Regions from separate parts of the Homo sapiens genome. Here region 2 is linked to region 1. Evidence: promoter capture Hi-C in 16 types of primary human blood cells and fetal thymus (Javierre and others, 2016). All regions are on one chromosome and are shown on one strand. The core of a region is centred on a gene start or on the middle of the fragment in contact, and the rest is flanking DNA. Distances in the headings are between cores, read along the strand shown.

Region 1 (4,290 bases), core at 719-3,218:
TTTTGGAATGTTGGCTGTAATGTAACAGCAATTTTCATAATAAAAGGCATTCATCTTTATGTGGTTGTTTTATGATTGTAGAAGAAATGAACAGGGCAGCCTAAAAGATGAAAGGAAACCCAGACTTAGTATTTCTTTAGCCCACATTGTAATCCATGCCTCTAAGTATTGGCCTCAAAAGTCCCTCTGGGGTTTTAGAAATCTCTGTCTTTAAAATAAACGTAAACCAATAGTTATAGCACCCTTTCTAGCAAAGAGCAAATTAACTTTCTGACCCCAATAACCCAAGGACACGGGTCTCCAAAGAAATCTATTATTTCTTTGAATAAAAAGCATATTTTGATAGTTACTCGTTATTTTTTTTCCTCCTAAACAGATCGAGGGAAGGGAAGGTGAGGCTTTAAAATTCTGCTTAGAAACGTTAGATATTAATTATCTCCCAGTTGTAATGTTTTCTCAAGAGGCCTTTCCATCTTGTTGCTGCCTCTACCAGAATGTGCCTGTCCTCTGTTGGAAGGGGACCAACCCTTAAAAATCCGTTTATGTTAAATACTTTGCATTTACATTGGAGATTGTTTTGAGTTTCTGAACAAACACATAAATAACCACATTTGCCTGGTAAAGCCAAATTTACAGAATTTCTGACTCTGGGCGGGGGTGGATAATATGTGGAAATGGACAAACAAAAACTTTGAGACAAATTGACCCATTGAGAAGATTTCCAATGATGATAGGCTGTCTCTGTTCTAAGAAAAGCCATGTTACAATTCGTCCTTTTACTGGAGTCTTGAATGAAACTGTTCAGTTACTTTGGATTCTTCCTACTATATGCTTTTCAGATAGCATATTAAAGTTATAAATTTTGAAGTGTATTGGAAGAAAAACCCTAAATCTCCAGGCCAATGTTTGTAAATAGAAGTCCTTGGCACTCCTGCAGCAGTTTACAATGGTCATTCACATGCGTAATGAATGCTTACAGCAGCCCAAGGATGCAGGTGTTATCCCCATTTCCCCCCATTTTTCAGACAAGCAGTGACCAAGATTTGCTCACTGCCAGAGCTGGGACTCCAGCCTAGAACTTCCCTACTCCCTACTTCCCTAGAAGTCCAGTGCTTTTTGCTACTACAGCTGCCAGAGATGTCATTTCATAGCTGGTTATGTATTGAAAGTTCTTAAAAGTGAGTTAAAAATGAAAATCTTATTGAAATCAAGTGCTTTTCACAAAATATGCTGTACTCAAAACACAAATGTATCACATTCCCAACTTGTGTTTTCATCTATGATGGAGAGATAAGGAAAGCCATGTGATTAATATGGGTAGAAGGGCTGAGGACCCTCTGATAATTGCCATTTGGTCTCTACCTTTTGCCTTGCTGTCAGCAATACCTTCCTCTCCTTTCTGCAATATCCCCTTCCAAATGCTCTCCCCACTGAGCACTCCCTGCAGTATTAAGTTTTCAGATAAAGAAGTAGCTCCTATCTGAGACAGAAAGCACTATTTGTTAGGTTCAGAACAGTGGCTTGGGAGGGGATTGACCAGAAGGTACTGTTTTTGATGGGTTTCTATTATTAGCTGAACAGTCTTCAGTTGTTTTCTCACCATAACATGAGAGATTTAATAAGGTTAGTAGGTTATTGGCTTATTTCCGGTCCTGCCACATTTTTTTCTTTCATTAAAAATGCTATCTTCTGTTGTGGAATGTCTGTCATCTTGAACTAATCAACAAAAATACTATGTTTTTCTGCCGTTAACTATGTGTTGGCAATTTGAGAGAAAATACTAGAATGTAGGTTTGAAAATGATACAAATTAGACTTCAAGGAATACTTAAGAAGATTTGTGGCAGGAAAGGCTTGTGAGTAATTTAGTTGTTAGGCTGGGTTAGGCATCTGTGGATTACATCAAAGAGGATGTGCAGAGATTTTATCGGGAGCAGTGAGGTGACTTTGGCAGCTAACAGGCCACTAGTATCCTACTAAAGCTTTTGTCTGGATAGGAGCAACATGCATGTTTACAGTCTTGCAGGTAAGAGACCTTGGCAAATAATCCTCAGTTACCAGAAGATGTATCCATAACTGCCTAGCTTGCCTGTCAGTTTTTAATAGCTAAAGATATAAATCTGGGTAATCTAACTCAAATGGCTTAGTTTCATTTTAACTCAAATGATATGGGGAATTTTATGATCTTGAAAGAGCAGGTTTTGCTTCGAGAAGCCATTTCTTCAGTATGGAATAATGAGTTGTCAGGAAGATTGAGTACAATGGGCATTTGCCCTGGTCCTAATCAACAGCATTTGGACCCAGAGGAAGCCAGCTATTTTTGTAAGGGCCATTTCTCATCATTAAGTTTCCAAGTGCTTTTTTAGGGTTTGTCTAGTAAAAAGCACTATTTTGAAAAACAAGCATAGTAAGGGTAGGGGGTTGTGGCATTTAATAGTACGTTTTAAAAAGCTAATGGAAATACTTTTAAAACAAGATTTAGGACAAATTCCTTAGGCATCAGTCACACTAATGCATCTTCTGAGTCAAGAACTGGCTATCCTTTCTGTGTACTCAGTCCGGAATTGCATGTGGTGGGTGCTTACTTATTTGCAGTCTCAATCAAGAATTCTCACTCTCAAGATAGCAGAAATAGATAAGCTTCAACTGACAAATTTGGTACAGAAGTCATGGAAAGGAAGGTAAGTCTTTTGCCAGGCATCATGCCAGGCATCAGCATCTTTCAGGACTAAGGAAACAAAAGAGGAAAACTCGATTTTACTACATGTTAACTCTACTGAATACCTCCTTGAATGTCAGATTCCTTATCTGTAAAACAAAGGTTTTGCATTTGATTATCTCTAAGATCCGCTTCTGCCCCCAGTTTTAAAGTTTGATAGGGAAAGAGGTTTAAGTCAGGATACCAGGCCAGGGAGGAAAGGAAGGGAGGGCACAGGCCTCTGGAGTTCAGCTGCCTCCCCCATTAGGATTGAAGTCCCAGCTGCTGGCTACTGCCTTGAGGGAGGTATCAGCCTTTTACTTCTGGATCTTGGCCTCTCCTTGTTCTACCCCTTCCCAACAACAACTGAACATACCAAGTGCTTGCTATGGCCCAAGCACTGTTGCAGGTGAAGCTGCAGCATGAACAAGATAAGCAACATCTCTGCTCCCCAGGCCCTCTGCAGACATGACACCTGCGGGAGACAGACACTGAGCAAGCCAGTGGATACAAGAACTGGGAAAATGAGAAGTGCTATGAGGGCAAGAAGTTGCAACTGTTTTCTTAGCTACCTGGAGGGAGGGAAAATCATTTTCTGGAAGTTTTTTTCTATGAGTTTTGTCTTAGCTTTGGCTGTCATAACAAAGTACCATAGACAGTGGCTTAAACAACAGAAATGTATTTTCTCATACAGTTCTGGAGGCTGGAAGTTGAAGATTGGGATGCCAGCATGGTTGGGTTCTTGCGAGGGTTCTCTTCCTGGCTTTCAGATGGCCGCGTTTTCACTGTGCCATCATCTGGCAGGGAGAGAGAGAACACATGAACTCTGATGGCTCTTACCCAGACGCTAATGACATCTTGAGGCCTCTACCTCATGACCTTAACCCAGTTACCTCCCAAAGGCCCCATCTTCAAATGCCATCAACAATGGGGATTAGGGCTTCAACATCTGAATTGGGGGTGGGGACACAACATTCAGTCCACCATAAATTTGTCATAGGAACCTGAAGATGAGGAGCCAAGCACAGTTTTTAGAATTTGCATAAGTTGTAGATTACTGTAATTATTGTTTTTGCCTCTATGGCTGAGAAACTTTGGGTCAAAACGAGCCTTTTAGAATGTATGAATTAGTTATCTAGGTAGCCCTGAAGTTGGCTCTAGATTTATTAGAAGCTATTTTAACCATTGCATTCACTCAAGAAACCACCGCCTATCTGTGAAGCACAGTCTATCTGTAAAGCTCCCTCACAATAAATTCATCTCAGAAATATGTAGTCTCTAGTGTGTGCCCCCAACTGCTGAATGGGTAGGCCTAGCTCAGCACAGTCATTCGGGCATTAAATATGGCAGAAATGTGGTCCACCTCATGACGTGCAAACAACAGTTGGCTTGTTTAATCTGCACTGCTTTGCCAAGGACGTGTGATTTGTGAGGTGCTGGAGGGGAACCAATTTTAAGAGTCAGCCTGAGTGTCAGCCTCATCTGTCTGCTCTGACTTTTGTCTGCTCTCTAGCAGGCACTCCATCTCCCTTTTCAATTTTCTACCCTGGAAGTGCTCCCCTCCAGGGAGGAAGATGAGTCAGATATGCAGCT
Region 2 (4,169 bases), core at 1,532-4,031, 240 kb after region 1:
CACTGTGCAAAAGAAGAATTAACAGCAGGCCTAAAACTGCTATTCTTAGAAAATAGCTGCTTATAAGGTTGACCCTTGGCTAGTATCTGGGAACTGGGATTTTGCAGAGGTTCCCTTCATAAGAATCGCTCACTGTGTCTAAACTGTTTGTGCAAATAATACAGTTTATGCTGAACACCTGGCTTTTTTTCTGGGAGACTGGAATTTTGTTACTTGCTAGCAGAGCACGCCTACGTGACAAGTCCCCAATAAAAACCTTAAGTCCAAGTCTCTAATGAGCTTCCCTAGTAGACAACATTTCACATGTCACAACTCTGGGGGAACTGTGCATATACTATGGAACTCCACTGAGAAAAGATTCTTGAAAGCTTGTGCCTGGTTTCCTCTGAACTTCACCCCACATACCTTTTCCCTTTGAATATTTTTGAATATAATTTCTTTATCCATTATCATAATAGCCAAGTAAAAAGTAGTTAGACCTTACAAAGAAACTGAAAGAAGATATTTTTACATATGCTGCTCCTTTGAAAACAGCATTTCTTAGTTCTCAAATAGAGGGTAAAACTTGAATGGGGAGGAATCCTTAAGTAAAAGTATCAACTTTATCCCAACTGCACAAATTTCTCGTTTAAGGAAAAAAAGTAAATATTTCGATTCAAAGAATTTAAAATATTTCACCATTGCAGAAAAATGTGATTTAAAGTTACAATCATTAACGATATAAATCACCCATTATCACATTCTATTATTTTTCACAAAACCCATAATTATGGAATAATAGGCTAAGATATTCTTTTTCCAAAATTTGAAAGCCCTGGGCAACACACAGCCCTTTGAATCTCACAATTCTCGCCTATCAAATGAAGGGAATAGACTGAATGCCCTTTCACATCTTTTCCAACTTAAAAATTGATATAAAATTGTAAATCTTAAGTAATCCTTTAGAGTAAGGGTCGGCAAACTATGGTCCATGAGCCAAATCTGACCCACCACCTGTTTTTGTGAGTAAAGTTTTACTGGAACACAGATACATTCATTCATTCATTTATATATTGCCTATGGCTGCTTTCATGCTAGTATTTCAGCAGAAAAGTAGCTGTAACAAAGACCAAAGGGTCTGTAAATACTATCTGGCCTTTACAGAAAAGCTTGCTGATCCCTCCTTTACAGAATAAAACATTTCACCTCCGTGTATTTTCCAGATATATAAAGCTTCTCTTTCAAGTGGTAATGCTTTACTTTAAACATGTAAGTAACTGTGTTATGTATTTTCCATATTACTAACAATCCAGTCTTCTAACTTCATAGTTCTGCCTCTCAGCCTTGGTAATTGATAGAATAGATTGGCAGGTATGAGTCTGGCTCCAACTTTTTGCAATCTTGGACAAACTGAAAATGAGGATAATGCCACCTGCCCTGCTAAACTTACACAATTTGAAACTATGAAAGAAATATATGAAAGTATTTGTAAACTATAAATCATCATACAAATATACTCATCCTTTTTTTTTTTTGAGACAGGATCTCCCTCTATCACCCAGGCTGGAATGCAATGGCATGATCACAGTTCACTGCAGCCTTGATCCCTTGTTCAAGGGATCCTCCCACCTTAACCCTCTGAGTAGCTGAGACTACAGGCATATGACACTACGTCTGGCTAATATTTTATACAGACAGGATCTCACTATGTTGCCTAGGCTGGTGTTGAACTCCTGGGTTCAACTGATTCTCTAGCCTTGGCCCCTAAAAATGCTGGGATTACAGGTGTGAGCCACTACACGTGGTCTACTCATTACTTTTTTAAAAACCACATTTTAATATAAGTATTCCCTATTCAAATATTATTATTATGTATAAAACAGGATGAAAGTCCTCAAGCTACTTAATCTAAAGTAGATACCACGGATCTAAATATAAATAGAAAACCAGTTGGCAGCTATACCTCATATATACATTGATCCAAATGATTTTATTTCGGTTAAGTCAAAGGGGTTATTTTTAATACTGTTTGGCTTGCTTTTGGTCAGATGGAAATTTGTAAAAGGAATTTCTGAAAGATTTAAAAGATAAGGCATAGCTAACTGGTGTGGGTGGCATATCAAAGTATAACACCTATGAGAAAAAGTAGATATGGGACAAAAGATTAGAATAATGAACATATTGAAGTATACGAGAAGTTCTTTATGAAAGAAAGAAAAACTCAATGAGAATGTAATTCATTTCTCAAGTCCAGAAGTCAATCAGGTCAAAACAATATCTCAGAGCATAAGAATATCCCATCAGAATATGCCTTTTATTATGGCTTGGCATTAACATCCAACTACTCTGACAGAACAAAATCAGATCTATATTTACAAAAACTTACCAAAAGAGACATTGAATCACTTTAGTTCACACAGAAAGTGACAAAAATCCATCTATTCCAAAGAAGGCTTTTGTTTTATCTTCCTTTCAAGATGCAGATATATCCTACTATAAAAAACAAAAGCAAAATAATTTAGATTCACATAAAAGTTCCTTAAAGAACCAGTTGCCTTAAACCCATCCAATATTTAGGCAGCTATTCCCTGATACCCAATATTTAGGCAGCTACTCCTTGACACAAGGAGACATTCCTGAAAAGTATCTTTAAAGAGCATTTATTTTTTACTGAACATTATTTGTGATCTGACATCACAACCAAGAAGCAGAGTGAAAACAAAAAGAAGTCCTGAATATTTCCAAAGCCTCAATATGTTTGCATTTCTCCTTCCCTATCTTTTCTATACTGTTTTTTGTTTGTTTTTTAAAGAACGCTGAGCAAATTTGAAAGCAATGTAGAAAACCAATTTTTGGCCCACTTTTGATATAAACAGTGTCACTTACAATAAACCCCAAGAATTTTCAATGGTTCCACATATTACAACTAAACTTTGAGACTTTCCAAAGCCCTTTCTTATTGGATTAATTACGTATTAAATCATTTGGGGTCCCTGACCAGCAAATATGGGAAAGAATCAGAATAACAGACTAGGAAATTAATTCAAGGAGATACAAAAGCACCATCCACGGTTTCCAGACCTTTACTAATAGAAAGGGTGGCAATCTTGTAAGTTTGTGGGTTCAGAGCATCCCTTTACATCTAACCAACATCATCTCTTTCATCTAAATTGTGCTTCATTATTTCAACTCCCCAAATTTGATGAACCCATCTACAAATATGTGAGCAGGATGAGAAAGGGAAGATTTTGTAAACCATAAAAACCATAAAGCAATATCCAATTTTATTGCTAAAGAAAGAGGTGAATTTATTCAGGATGTTCACTATGAACCAAAGGTAGAGATTGGGAGGAAGACGGACCTGAAAGGCTGTGATCATTTAGCCACCTACCATTCATTACCGTCAATTTAAAGCACTGGAGTTTGCTGTGCTGCAAAAGGAGGAAAGCAATGCCTGCCCTGCCAACCTTCCAGGGTGAATGAAATCAAATGAGTTACATCTCAAAGTGCCCCTAATTAGCAAACACTGTATCAGCTTGAACTATGCTTTGAAAGGTACACTCAAATGTACTGATGGCAGTACAAAACTATAAGGTTTATTTGGAAAGCAGGTTGTCAAATGTTTCAATAACCATGAAAATATTCATACTTTTTGACCCAGTAAAATTCCCCGGAGTGATCTATTCTAAGGAGATATCCAAGTAAATGAAGAAACTACACATCATAGTCAATACACTGTTAATCTGTTAACAGCCAAGTAATCATTACACAAGTGTTTAATGAGTGGTTACCATGGGTCAGGCACTGTGGACACCCGCTGGTAATCAGGGCAGACAAGACCCTGGCCACTTGTAGCTGACCTTCCCACAAGCAGAAGGGTTATGGATGTCATGATTAACCAAATTTTCTGGTTATCATGATTTTGTATCCTGCTTTTTTCACTCAATGTCAGCAAGTTGTTACTGATTTTGTCTTAATAATGTGAAACTCCATTACGTTGTCTATTTTTTTCTCTTTTTCAGAAAAGCTCAGAAGAAACAGACACAATCTGGTAAGAATTGTTAGTAATAAAAGGGTTGTCCCTATGGGGTGGTTTAATCTCAGAGATTTTTGCCTTAGATACACCAGACTATTAAGAGATAATTTTACAAGACATTTTGAGGTCAAGGCAGCAGCTGCACCCAGCAAAG

Evidence for each region. The method cuts DNA at HindIII sites, captures the fragments that hold promoters and counts their contacts. A CHiCAGO score of 5 or more calls a contact.
Region 2: a contact is called between a fragment that was not itself captured here and the fragment with the promoter of MPP4 in region 1, in 1 of 17 cell types (endothelial precursors). The highest score is 7.0, in endothelial precursors.

The regions. Positions count from the first base shown.
Region 1 is chr2:201,696,322-201,700,611 of GRCh38, reverse strand. MPP4 (MAGUK p55 scaffold protein 4) reads left to right here and starts at 1,968. Exons shown (of 22, transcript NM_033066.3): 1 at 1,968-2,025. ALS2 (alsin Rho guanine nucleotide exchange factor ALS2) reads left to right here. Exons shown (of 34, transcript NM_020919.4): 34 at 1-345. RefSeq lists enhancers at 337-836, 837-1,338. The HindIII fragment of the contact is 2,266 bases long and covers 1-1,983 here.
Region 2 is chr2:201,453,049-201,457,217 of GRCh38, reverse strand. STRADB (STE20 related adaptor beta) reads right to left here. Exons shown (of 12, transcript NM_018571.6): 2 at 2,366-2,472. The coding sequence starts at 2,377. Among named protein-coding and RNA genes, the nearest start is that of STRADB, 3.4 kb to the right of the region's middle. The HindIII fragment of the contact is 3,133 bases long and covers 1,215-4,169 here.